4 separate regions of the Homo sapiens genome follow, and regions 1, 3 and 4 are each linked to region 2. Evidence: promoter capture Hi-C in human tissues and cell types (Jung and others, 2019). All regions are on one chromosome and are shown on one strand. The core of a region is centred on a gene start or on the middle of the fragment in contact, and the rest is flanking DNA. Distances in the headings are between cores, read along the strand shown.

Region 1 (3,225 bases), core at 562-3,061, 120 kb before region 2:
AGGTTACCAAGTTGTATCCATTTTACACCAAATGTGCCTGGAAGCCCTCCCCTCCTTTCCACACCTATGATCACTCTCCTAATTCCCTAATTCAGGCCTTATGTATGCATCAACTGAACTACTGCAGAGCCCTCCCTCCTGCTTCCAATTCCCCCTCCCTACTGCTGCCTACAGTACAAACTCATAGCCCTGTTTCCTTGGCTATAAATACATAACTAAAACCTCTGACAGCACCCCTCCCTCCCCCGCCCATGAATAACCGTGTCCCCAGTTCATACCAAGGCACCTAAATTCTCCACGGATACAGCCTACCCTAGCTTTCTAGCCTCGTCTGTACTTCACACTAACCCAACTCTACCTACAAATCTACTTGTCAAGTTCCCACCCAACTGGACTACTTCCAATTGTCCAGTTCCATCTCCCACTTCCATGTTTCCATGTTTTTGATCACTGTATTAGCTACCTATTCCACAACAATGCTATGAGACAAATATCCACACACTTCAGTGGTAAACAACACTAGGCATTTACTGCTCATGTATCTGCGGTCAGAAACTAGGTAGCACTGCTGATCTTAGCTGGACGCACTCATAAGTCTGGAGCACAAGTTCTCAATCAGAGGATGTTTTGCCCCTTGGGGGCATCTGGCAATGTCTGGAGACATTTTTGGTTGTCACACCTTTGGCAGTGGGGGTACTACTGGGATCCGGTGAGTACAGGCCAGGGATGATGCTAACCATCCTAAAATGAACAGCTCCCCAAAACACAATGATCCAACCCCTAATGTCAAAGTGCTTCTGCTGAGAAACTTCACTGTAGGTGCTGGCTGGCTATTAGCTGATCTAGGATAGCCTTGTCTGGGGCAAGTGGGGCAATTTGGCTTTGTCCAGGTCTCTCATCCTCCAGCAGGCCATCTGGGGCATCTTGTCACAGCGATGACAGAGGAGAAAGAACAAGCAGAATTACCCAAGGTGTCTTACAGCCTAAGCTTGGAACAGGCACCTCATCACTTCTGCTGCATTCTACTGGCCAAAGCAAGTCAGAGGGCCTGCCCGAATCCAAGGAGTCAGGAAACAGACTCCACCTCTTCAGGGAGAAGAACGGCAGTCACTTGGCAAGGGGTATGTACACAGGACAGGATGGAAAACTGGTATAGCCAACCACACCAATTCAGCTCCCTCTGTGAGGGAAACATGAATTTGGAATTATAAAAGTGGTTCCCTTCTCTCTGCTCCCTCTTGTTTACATTCCTCTTTGGGTGTTTAAAATACTGCACTTCGTATTACCGATACTTGGAGCTGACAGACAGCCGGTATTCACCATGGCAGGCACTACTGTCACTGGGTCTGCTCTGATTGGTTGGTGCTGTGCTGTACAGTTATTTAAATTTAGTTACCTTGGCCTCCACTTTTGTGCACCTGTTTGTCTCCTCTATGGGACTGAGAATCACTCACTTGGTGCTAGAATCTATATTAAGATATTAGTTTAAGAATAAGGTTAAGTTCTTCCTTGGGCATTCAGTGCCTGGCATTCAGTGGCTTGGATATTAAATGCACCTACCTGGCACACAGTAAGTGTTCAAGATCTGTTTATTGAATAAATGAATAAATTAGGACATTTGTACAAAGAATAACTGATTGTGATATGACTTTACACTCAGGAATGCCTATGATTCAGTGCAGAAAATAAGAAGATTCTCCTAAAGAAGCTGTGGTCAAATCTGCTCAGGTATCTAGAACATTCTACTACTCTTTATAGTATGCCATAAAATACTGATTATTTTATTCCATCATGTGAACTAGGAATGATGTTGTTGGCAGACAGAATATAACTGTATTCCCTGGATGCACATCTCTTCACACACCCCCACATAAATAATCATTCAAACAAGTTTTAAATCTTAGATCTGCCAATATCGCCCAGTGCAACTTACTCACTTATTTTGTCATCTGCTGTGTTCTCCACCCTGGCTGCACATTGCAATCACTTGGGGGAAAATGTCTATAAAATAACAATGCTCAGGCCCTGATCCAGATCATTTTAAATCAAAAGCTCCCAAATAATTCTAATGTGTAGCCAGAGTTGAGAACTGCTGAGCCAGAGCTCTCCACTAGCAGGGAGGCAGTAATTATTATTACATGCTTATCTAAAAAAAAAAAAAGAAAGAAAAGAAAATATCAAATCAAATCTCAGGCTGGGTGCAGTGGCTCATGCTTGTAATCCCAGCACTTTGGGAGGCCAGGGCAGGATTGCTTGAGGCCAGGAGGAGATCAAGGCCAGCCTAGGCAACAAAGTGAGATACCATCTCTACAAGAAAGAAGAAAGAAAAGAAAAGAAGATATCAAATCTCTGTAAGATTTTGTTTAAATAAAAGTTTCCAGAACTAATCAAAACTTTCAGTAACATGAGTTTCAATATAAATAGTGCATATTACCAGTGATTACCTATATCAGGTGGGATTTCAGAGTGGAAGCATTTTTATTCCTATATTGTTTGGTGGTGGTGGTAGTGGTGGTGTTTAAAATACTAGACCTGGCTGGGCATGGTGGCTCACACCTGTAATCCTAGCACTTTGGGAGGCCAAAACGGGTGGATCACCTGAGGTTAACGTCAGGGAGTTTGAGACCAGCCTGGCCAACATGGCAAAACCCCATCTCTACTAAAAATACAAAATTAGCCAGGTGTGGTAGTGCACACCTGTAATCCCAGCTACTCAGGGGGCTGAGGCAGGAGAACTGCCTGAACCCAGGAGATGGAGGTTGCAGTGAGCTGAGATCGCGTCACTGCACCCCAGCCTGGGCAACACAGCGAGACTCTGTCTCAAAAAAATAAAAATAAAAATAAATAAATAAATAAAATACTAGACCTATTTTGGAAAATATATCTAGAGAGAATATCTTACCGTCATCATTTATCTAAATAGACTGGACTAGACAAATGACTTAGTATCAGAATATCTAATATTGAATCCCTTATATATAAAACATGATAAATGACCAGTTACAGTTAAAATTACATATTGATCGTGTAGCCACTTATGATGGCTTTAAAATATGTCCACAGATTCTTTGATACTCCTCCTTTCAAAAGGTGGAGTCTAATTCCTCTCCTCTTGGGTGTGGGCTGTACTTAATGACTAACTTCTTAGGAAGTTATGGTGGCTGATACAGTGGCAGATAAGTTGGCAGATATGGTGACATGTGAAGTCTGAAGCCAGGTCCTACC
Region 2 (3,331 bases), core at 124-2,623:
ATACATTCAAGAGGCTAAAAACCAAGTGTGCAAGTGGTGGGAGTGGAGAAGAGAGAAGAACCCCTTAAGACCATCAGAAACCCAAGTAATGGAGGCGGAGAATTAGCGAACCTAATTGTTTCCCTGCGATTTAGGTCAGCCCTTCCCCCTCCATTCTACAGCTAGGTGGGAGTCTGAGAAGCAAACAATGAGTTGACAGGTTATAGCCCTTAAAGGGAAACCAGCAGCCATTCCCCGGAACCGGAGGCTCGAAAAAGCCCAAGTTCGAGGGAACTCATGAGTAGGATGAATGATTTCCCTGGATAACGGGATAGATGGAACTGAGATACTGCCTCTCTTCCAAATTTAAGGCAATTGTGGACGGATGGGCAAGAAGGCGACAGGCACCGCTGGAACAGGAGCCCAGGGAGTAGGTACCACGAAAATGCAGGCTCCTCCCTTCCTTGTAGGCGCGCCCCGCATCACCTACAGGGGAGGGGGCGGGGCGGGGAGCCCCCGAGGACTCAAGCTGGGGAGCGGCGTGCACTGCCGGCGGCCGGCGCATCCTGGGCCCCACGCCCTACCTGGGCCGTGAGGGGAAACAGCAGCAGCAGCGCGCAGGCAGGCGCTGGCACCGAGCCCAGAGACTCCTCTTCCAGCCCCAGCACGTCCACGAAGCGCCACTGGCCGGCGACCCCCAGCCGGGACAGCACCTGCGGAGAGGAGACAAGGCGGCCAGGCGCACGGGGACACGCGGGTCGCGGGCACCTGCCAGGGGGCGGGGCCAGGAGGCGCGCGCCCTCCGCGCCCGCACCCGAGCCTGGGAGGAGCCCCAGTCCCGCCCTGCCACCCCCACCCGGGCCGGCGCAATGACACAGCACAAAGCGCGGCCCACACGTGGCGCCCGCGAAGCCCGTGCAGCCGAGTCTGTGCTGCCCGCGCCACGCCCTCGGGAGCTCCGCCTGGCGCTCGCTCGCCACGGGGCGCAGCCCCCTCCGTCTCCCCGTGACCGGTTTCGTAGAGTCACCCGCTAAATGCAGGGGCCCAGGAAAGGCGCCCAGCCCACGCCCCAGCCCGGCCGTCTCCGGTGCTCGCAGCGGGCGGCTTGGTCCCTGCCAGCAGCCGGAACCGGTGGGCGCCCCCGCCTCGGCGCTCGCGGGGGAGGGGGCCAGAGACGGCGCGAGACGCCACTCACTTTGTTCAGCATCTGAAAGGCAAATGCAAAGAAAAAGGCAAAACCGAACCGATCAGCGACTCGGCTCCCCCTCCCTCGGCCTCGCGCTCTCCGGGTAGCGGTGCACCTGGCGCTCACCTCGGGGTTGATCTCCATCGGCTTGAGCTGCATCTTCGCGGAGCGCCCGGCAGAAATAGCCTAGGGAAGACGAAAAACAGCTAGCGGAGCCGCCCAGGCTGCAGCTATAAAGCGCCGGCCAGACGCACTGTGAGGCCTGTGCAGGGGGAGCAGGGGCAGAACCAAGCGAGGGGGAAACGGACGGTCGCGGCCAGATGGGTACGAACCCCCCGTGCGCAGCGCGGAGTGGTACGGCCGGGCCCCCAAACCTTGCAGTCTCACTCGCCGGTGAGATAATCTGGTGGTTGTGGAGACGGGATTTGTTGGTGGGTGTTCCTTGAGTGTATGGAGCAGTCCTTTTGATGGAGTCTTTAATTTTGGGCGAAGTTTCTGGAAACCCATCCTTTCACCATCCCAATTACTCTAAAGCTCGAGTCTCTGAAGCATTTGAGAAAAAGCACAAATTCAACAGGTATATATTTAATACGAATGAATGTAAATGTGTGCCCCCCGCCCCAAATCTCTCAGCAGTTTGCGTTTAACCTTAGACAATTCCTCCTCCATGTTAAGTCAGACCAGTACCGAGGTTCGTTTTTAAGTGACTACCTAGAATAAAACAGAATCTGGTAGATAACAGATACTGCATTAGGAATGCTGATGTAATGTGACTCCCGCGGAAGAAATGGTTGGTCCTGGGAGAGCAGTAGAAAGCTGGGGGATGTGAGGGTAATACAAGACACAAAGAAGGCAGGCGATTGGAGACTTGAGAAAACAGATCCAGGGAAAAGATGGGTATGATTTTGAGCGAGAGGCTGTAAAAGGAAAAGCATTTTTAAAAGAATGGGAAGCTTTGAAAAATAAAATGTCTGAGTTCACCGCAGAATACTCCCAATGAAGAAGAAAGGGAATGGCAACCAAGGAAACCACTGTTCTCTAATGATCTCAGGTGATCTCTAATGATCTCTAGTCAAAAGATGGAGAGAGAAAGCATTTGCTGAAGAATGAATTTTAAAAGGGACCAAAATCTATAAGAATTGTGCCAGGAAAGCTAAGCTGCAGAACAAAGTGGGCTTGCAGAAATACTTAGGTAGCGAAGGAAGCAAGAAGGTTGAGTATTTTTTAAAAATAGGCACCGAAGAGAATAATGATGATGGTAAAAGAATAGACCTTCTATTTAGGAAGTTGAGGTTAACAGATGACAGAGGGAAGGGAGGGAATCAACATTTTTTGAGTTATTGTTTTTGGGGATCCTTTGCATGTGTCTCTCATTTAATCCTTAGAGGAGCCGTGAAGAGACTCATATTAGTGCAATTTTACAGATCAGAATCCCAGGCCTAGAGAAGTTAATTTGCTTACGGTCACAATTGAAAAGTAAAACTGAGAAGTAAACCCTGCTAAACTGGGCTCCAAGAGCCCATTCTTTATCTAAGATTCCACAACATTCTACTTCTATTTTCTTTCCATTTTTGCCATTAGAAAATGACCTTCACACACAAAAATGAGAGAGAAAAAAATTAGTAAGAGGAGCTTAATGGGTGAATCTTATGGTATGTAAATTTTCCCTCAATAAGGTTGTTAAAGAAAAAAAGAGGTGAAGGTCAAGACAAGTGACTAGGTTATATTGAATGAGTTCTTGCCTTTAGACAAAGACAAATTACATTTCCAATTTACTTCATTTATTCATTCACTCAACAAATATTAAGAACCTACTGTGTGCTGGGTGCCGAGCTTGGAAAGTTTGGAATTAGGCATACAAAGATGAACACAATAAACATGGAAATTTCCCTCATGCCGTTTTTTTGTTTGTTTGTTTTGTTTGTTTTGTTTTGAGACGGAGTCTCGCTCTGTCGCCCAAGCTGGAGTGCAGTGGCGCGATCTCGGCTCACTGCAAGCTCCGCCTCCCCGGTTCACGCCATTCTCCTGCCTCAGCCTCCGGAGTAGCTGGGACTACAGGCGCCCGCCACCACACCCGGCTAATTTTTTTTGTATTTTTAGTAGAGACGGGGTTTCACCGTGTTAGCCAGGATGGTCTCATCTGCTGACCTCGTGATCCGCCCGTCT
Region 3 (3,297 bases), core at 689-3,188, 120 kb after region 2:
TTATTTTCTTAACGGTGTTGTTTGGTGCTCAGAAGTTTTTAATTGTAACAAAATTCAGTTTATTCGTTTTTTCTTTCAAAGCTCATGATTTTGATGTTTCTAAAAACTCTTTGGCTGGCTAATCAAAGCTCATGAAAAGTTTCTGTGTTTCTTTCTAAAACTTAGTTTTTGTGTTTTTTTTAAATGCAGTCTCACTCTGTCACCAGGCTGGAGTGCAGTGACGTGATCTCGGCTCACAGCAACCGCTGTCTGCCAGGTTCAAGTGATTCTCCTGCCTCAGCCTCTCGAGTAACTGGAACTACAGGTGCCAGCCACCCACCTGGCTAATTTTTTGTATTTTTGATAGAGACGGGGTTTTACCGTGTTAGCTAGGATGGTCTTGATCTCCTGACCTCATGATCCACCTGCCTCAGTGCGCCCAGGCTCTTTCTAAAACTTTTGTTGCTTTACCCTTTACATTTTGGTGTTTAATTCATTTGGGGTCAATTTTTATGTATGGTGTGAGGTTTGGGTCTATGTTTATCTTATTTTGTTGATTTTTTATTTTTATTTTTTGCATATAGGTCTTAGCACCATTTGCAGAAAAGGCTAACCAGTGACTTGACTTTTTTTGTAGAAAATCAATTGACCACAAATGTAAGGGCTTTCTTTCTGTACTCTCAATTCTGTGCCTTTGGTTTACCATCTGTCCTTATGCTAGTACCACACTGGTTTTTGCAATGCAATTTTTCTATGAAAAAAGTTAGTTCAAGAATTGGACTTAAGATGCAGTGTCTTCACTAAAAAACACTGTTGTACCTTTGCTACTTTTCCTCTCTGTTCTTTATGAGTCACTGTGTTAGAGTACTAGTATTTGGTGTTTTCTCTTTGGGGTAATTATGGAAATCTAATATGGTAGATGACAATGTGGAATCAATCAAAGTGCATTTTCCAGATTACTATATATATGACTTTAAGCAGTGCTTTGTTTTTCATAAAGGTGGTAATCATTTTTATACCTGTTCTGCATTTGGAAAAAAAAAGATTAAGTTTTTCATTACCTCTGTCTTAATCATTCCCAATAACTACTGAATGAAGGTTTTACAAGGCTGGCATATTATTTCAAGTATTTTCATTAATGGTAACATGAATTGGGTCTCATATCACAAAACTATTATTTTACTAAATAGAAAACCTATGAATTAAAATGTCTTGCGTGTGTTTGGTAACATAGTGTAGTTGTATATGTTTTATGAAAATGGGACATTTTTCATAGTATAAAATGCTAGCTGTATTTTTATATTTACCTATTCTGTTTTTATCTTTGTATTAGTATGATTCTGAATAGCTAAGTGTGAAGACATTAAAATAATTATATTAGAAATGTGAAGATTGCAAAATATATATATCTTTAGTTACAACTGCGTTATGGATGCATAAACATTGAAAAGGAAATTGTTTAAAAGTCAGTGCTTTATTGTGACATTTGGAATCTAGTTGATCATTTTCTCTTGTTTTCTAATAAACTCCTAATTTTGTTTGGGACATGACATTTTTAATGTGAAAAAAATCTAAATGTAAGTCTTGGTGAAATGCAGAGACATTTCCCTTCTCTGGCACATAGCTGAGCTGACTATTGCTGCTGGGCTTTAACTGGAGATTACAGTCATGCTATTAGATTTGGAACCTGTTTTCTGCAGTGCCGTTAGTAGGTCAAGCCATGCGTCCTGGTTCCTGGAGGGCTCAGTTCTCAGGATGGCTTATCTGCTTCCTGCTTTCTTCGTAATCTTCTCATTTCAACCTGAGTAGACCAGCTTGATGGCAACTGACATGTGTGTTACCTGGCCCTTTTACTTTCCTGGGAAGTCTTTTAACTGATAATATCACCTCCTAAAAACATATCCATAGAGCAACATGGAATTATCTTTTTTATTGTTCATTTAAAGTCAAAGCCATAAGTAAGCTTTCATTTATAACTCTAAGTCCCTGGAAATAGGTGTTATGAAACTTTTAACCCAGTCACTTCTTTAAATCTTTTCTTTCTCTCTGTTGCCCCTTTAAACATCTTTGTGACCTATTCACAGAATGACTCCATGAGGAGTGTAGTATAATGTTCTGGAAAGATAAGGTCTTCTTATTCTTGTTTTCTTTTGGGAGCTGAATCAAAGCATGGCTGGGTTAGAGTAACCTCTTAACCATCGTTTACTTTGAATAGAGCCTTTTTGCCAGCTGAAGTTGGGATTCAAAATGATTGAATCACTGAAGTTTGAGTTGTAGTACAATTACATTCATGAAGACTCTGGCCTATTTATGATCATTTGCTTGCAGATGAAGCAAAATCAGATCAACCTAGTCACATTCACTGAGTCAACACCAGAATGAAGAGAGTGTCAGGGAACTGGGTGTGGTGGCACGTATCTGTAGTCCCAGCTATTCAGGAGGCTGAGGCAAGAGAATTGCTTGAGCCCAGGAGCTTGAGACCAGCATGGGCAACATAGCAAGACCCAGATCCTGTCTAGAAAAGAAAAGAGTGCCTGGAACTTGCTTCTTTAGTACAGCCACAATTTTGTATACATCTGTAATGAGGATGTTTATGACAAATACATTAACAGAGTTTGGAATAATATATCTTTTGATATTTTTCTTGTCTTTTTTTATGTTGAATAATCTGTGAAGTATAGGTTTTCTTTAACAGCTTTCAAAGATACTGTGAGTGACATACAGTCATTTATTTTAATATAATTACTGATACAAGAACAAACAGTACTTTCTCAGTTTCATACTGATCTGTGATGCATAAAATGTTTAATTTGATTATATTGTCCAAATAAGATCTATACGCATGACACGATAGCTATTCAAAGTTTCTGAAATTTCCAAATTGATTATTATCTATTCAAATAAGCATTGATCATTGATCCTTGGCTTCATTCATAAACAAAAATAGTCTACTGGTTTGGATAGTGTCTATGAAAAAACATATAATAATTTATAAAAAACAAGTATCAACATTGGTCTGGCTTGCATTAAAAAATCTTTCGGTGCAGTTTGTTAGTGTACTGTCTTTAAGGATGAAAGAATATAGTTTTGAATGTAATCGTCATGCATCTGAGGCCCTTTGAGGACAGGTTTTAGAATCATAGTAACCATGCTATGCTTGGGTTTGTAAGGGTGATTTTTTTTTTTTTTTTTTTTTTGAGGGCTCAAGGATATAGTTTGTTACTGCTGTGGCTTTTTTTCTGGTGTCTGGTTAAAATGTCACAGAGCATATGAAAAGTAAGACAGTAATTAGTGACTTGAGGAATGAATTCTCCTAGA
Region 4 (3,571 bases), core at 1,072-3,571, 92 kb before region 2:
GATGTTAGCTGGTTATTTTGCCCGTTAGTTGATGCAGTTTCTTCCCAGCATCAATGGTCTTTACAATTTGGTATGTTTTTGCAGTGGCTGGTACCGGTTGTCCCTTTCCAAGTTTAGTGCTTCCTTCAGGCGCTCTCGTAAGGCAGGCCTGGTGGTGACAAAATCTCTCAGCATTTGCTTGTCTGTAAAGGAGTTTATTTCTCCTTCACTTATGAAGCTTAGTTTGGCTGGATATGAAATTCTGGGTTGAAAATTCTTTTCTTTAAGAATGTTGGATATTGGCCCCCACTCTCTTCTGGCTTGTAGAGTTTCTGCTGAGAGATCAGCTGTTAGTCTGATGGGCTTCCCTTTGTGGGTAACCCGACCTTTCTTGCTGGCTGCCCTTAACATTTTTTCCTTCATTTCAACCTTGGTGAAACTGACAATTATCTGTCTTGGGGTTGCTCTTCTCGAGGAGTATCTTTGTGGTGTTCTCTGTATTTCCTGAATTTGAATGTTGGCCTGTCTTGCTAGGTTGGGGAAGTTCTCCTGGATAATATCCTGCAGAGTGTTTTCCAGCTTGGTTCCATTCTCCCTGTCACTTTCAGGTACACCCATCAAACGTAGATTTGGTCTTTTCACATAGTCCCATATTTCTTGGAGGCTTTGTTCATTTCTTTTTACTCATTTTTCTCTAAACTTCTCTTCTCACTTCATTTCATTAATTTGATCTTCAATCACTGATACCCTTTCTTCTACTTGATCGGAATTGGCTACTGAAGCTTGTGCATGCATCATGTAGTTCTCGTGCCATGGTTTTCAGCTCCATCAGGTCATGTAAGGTCTTCTCTACACTGTTTATTCTAATTAGCCATTCATCTAATCTTTTTTCAGGGTTTTTAGCTTCCTTGCAATGGGTTCAAACATCCTCCTTTAGCTCAGAGAAGTTTGTTATTACCGACCTTCTGAAGCCTACTTCTGTCAACTTGTCAAAGTCATTCTCCGTCCAGCTTTGTTCCATTGCTGGTGAGGAGCTGTGATCTTTTGGAGGAGAAAAGGTGCTCTTGTTTTTAGAATTTTCAGCTTTTCTGCTCTGCTTTCTCCCCATCTTTGTGGTTTTATCTACCTTTGGTGTTTGATGATGGTGACCTACAGATGGGGTTTTGGTGTGGATGTCCTTTTTGTTGATGTTGATGCTATTCCTTTCTGTTTGTTAGTTTTCTTTCTAACAGTCAGGTCCCTCAGCTGCAGGTCTGTTGGAGTTTGCTGGAGGTCCAATCCAGACCCTGTTTCCCTGGGTATCACCAGCGGAGGCTGCAGAACAGCAAATATTGCTGCCTGATCCTTCCTCTGGAAGCTTCATCTCAGAGGGGCACCCAGCTGTATGAGGTGTCAGTCGGCCCCTACTGGGAGGTGTCTCCCAGTTAGGCAACATGTGGGTCAGGGACCCACTTGAGGAGGCAGTCTGCCCATTCTCAGAGCTCAAACACCACGCTGGGAGAACCACTGCTCTCTTCAGAGCCATCAGACAGGGACGTTTAAGTCTGCAGAAGTTTCTGCTGCCTTTTGTTCACTTATGCCCTACTTCCAGAAGTGGAGTCTACAGAGGCAGGCAGGCCTTGTTGAGCTGTGGTGGGCTCCACCCAGTTCAAGCTTCCCGGCGGCTTTGTTTACCTACTCAAGCCTCAGCAATGGCGGACGCTCCTCCCCCAGCCAGGCTGCCACCTCACAGTTAAATCATGGACTGCTGTGCTAGCAGTGAGCGGGGCTCCATGGGCATGGGACCCGCTGAGTCACGCCCGGGATATAATCTCCTGGTGTGCCATTTGCTAAGACCATTGGAAAAGCACAGTATTTGGGTGGCAGTGTCGCGCTTTTCCTGGTACAGTCTGTCATGGCTTCCCTTGGCTAGGAAAGGGAAATCCCCCAACCCCTTGCACTTCCCAGGTGAGGCAATGCCCCACCCTGCTTCGGCTCACCCTTCATGGGCAGCACCCACTGTCCAACCAGTCCCAGTGAGATGAACCAGGTACCTCAGTTGGAAATGCAGAAATCACACGTCTTCTGCGTCAGTCACGCTGGGAGCTACAGACCGGAGCTGTTCCTATTCAGCCATCTTGGAACGGACCCTCCCATTCATCAGTTGATGGATACTTCAGTTCTTTCCACTTGTTGGTTATTATGAATAATGCTGCTTATCAACATTCATGCACAAGATTTTGTATGGACAAATGTTTTCATTTCTCTTCAGTATAGGAGAAAAAGTAGAATTGCTGGGTCATATGATAACTCTATGTTTAATCTTTTGATGAATGACCAGACTTTTCCTCAGCAGCTGCATCCTTTTACATTCCCAGCAGCAGTGTATAAAGTTTCCAATTTCTCCACATCCTTGCCAACACTTGCCAAGTTTTTTTATTATAGCTATCCTAGTGTGTATCTGGTTGTGGTATCTGGTTGTGGGTTTAGTTTGCATTTCCCTGATGGCTAATGATGCCAGACATCTTTTCTTGTGCTTTTTGGCCATTTGTACATATTCTTCAGAGAAATGTCTATTCAGAACTTTTGTCCATTCTTAGTTGTTATTTCTCTTTTTATCATTGAGTTATAAGAGTTCTTTATATATTCTAGATACAAATCTCTTATCCAGATATATGGTTTGCAAATATCTTCTGCCATTTGGTAGTGGGACTTTTCACTTTCTTAGTGGTGTCCTTTGAAGTACCAGAGTTTTTCATTCTGATGAGGTCTAATTATTTATTTTTTTCTTTTGTTGCTGGTGCTTTTGGTGTCATATCTAAGAAAGCATTGACTAATCCAAGGTCATGAAGATTTATGCTGTTTACTTGTAAGAGTTTTATTGCTGTAGCTCTTACATTTAGGTCTTTGATCGATTTTTAGTTAATTTTTTTTAAGAGCATAGGTTTTGAGGTCAAACAGTGTGATAGTCTTGGTCTTCTGAGAAGCAGACACCAAAGTAGAAATTAGGCTGGGCATGGTGGCTTATGCCTGTAATGCCAACACTTTGGGAGGCTGAGGCAGGAGAATAATTTGAGACCAAGAGTTCGAGACCAGCCTGAGCAACATACGGAGACCCCCCCACCCATCTCTACAAAAACAAACAAATAAATAAATTAGCTGCATGTGCCTGGTGCATGCCTGTAGTCCTAGCTACTTAGGAGGCTGAAGTGGGAAGATCGCTTGTATGCAGGAGTTCCAGGCTGCAGTGAGCTGTGACTGCACCACTACACTCCAGGCTGGGTGACAGAGTGAGACCTCATCTCCAGAAAAAAAAAAAAAAAAAAAAAAAATGGAGAATTAGGTAGGGCATGGTGGCTCATGCCTGTAATCCCAGCATTTTGGGAGGCCGAGATGGGTGGATCACCTGAGGTCAGGAGTTTGAGGCCTGCCTGGCCAACATGGTGAAACCCCATCTCTACTAAAAATATAAAAACTAGCCAGGCATGGTGGACATGCATGTAATCCCAGTTACTCAGGAGGCTGAGACAGAAGAATCACTGGAAACTGGGAGGCAGAAGTTGCAGTGAGCTGAGACCATGCCACTGCACTCCAGCCTGGGCGACAGAGCGAG

Evidence for each region. The method cuts DNA at HindIII sites, captures the fragments that hold promoters and counts their contacts. A contact is called where the count stands out against the background at its distance.
Region 1: a contact is called between a fragment that was not itself captured here and the fragment with the promoter of UCHL1 in region 2, in 2 of the 25 tissues and cell types used here (hippocampus and mesenchymal stem cells).
Region 3: a fragment that was not itself captured here is called in contact with the fragment with the promoter of UCHL1 in region 2 in 2 of the 25 tissues and cell types used here (hippocampus and psoas muscle).
Region 4: a fragment that was not itself captured here is called in contact with the fragment with the promoter of UCHL1 in region 2 in 3 of the 25 tissues and cell types used here (mesenchymal stem cells, neural progenitor cells and pancreas).

Annotation. Positions count from the first base shown.
Region 1 is chr4:41,379,414-41,382,638 of GRCh38, reverse strand. It overlaps a transcript of LIMCH1 not described here. Among named protein-coding and RNA genes, the nearest start is that of UCHL1, 120 kb to the right of the region's middle. The HindIII fragment of the contact is 3,663 bases long and covers 1-3,225 here.
Region 2 is chr4:41,254,970-41,258,300 of GRCh38, reverse strand. UCHL1 (ubiquitin C-terminal hydrolase L1) reads right to left here and starts at 1,373. Exons shown (of 9, transcript NM_004181.5): 1 at 1,292-1,373; 2 at 1,175-1,186; 3 at 564-692. The coding sequence starts at 1,324. UCHL1-DT (UCHL1 divergent transcript) reads left to right here and starts at 1,574. Exons shown (of 3, transcript NR_102709.1): 1 at 1,574-1,742. RefSeq lists an enhancer at 163-663 and a silencer at 498-1,257. The HindIII fragment of the contact is 4,741 bases long and covers 1-3,331 here.
Region 3 is chr4:41,135,049-41,138,345 of GRCh38, reverse strand. The region is part of intron 2 of APBB2 (amyloid beta precursor protein binding family B member 2); the gene reads left to right. Among named protein-coding and RNA genes, the nearest start is that of APBB2, 78 kb to the left of the region's middle. The HindIII fragment of the contact is 9,257 bases long and covers 1-3,297 here.
Region 4 is chr4:41,347,996-41,351,566 of GRCh38, reverse strand. No RefSeq gene overlaps it. Among named protein-coding and RNA genes, the nearest start is that of UCHL1, 93 kb to the right of the region's middle. The HindIII fragment of the contact is 6,105 bases long and covers 1-3,571 here.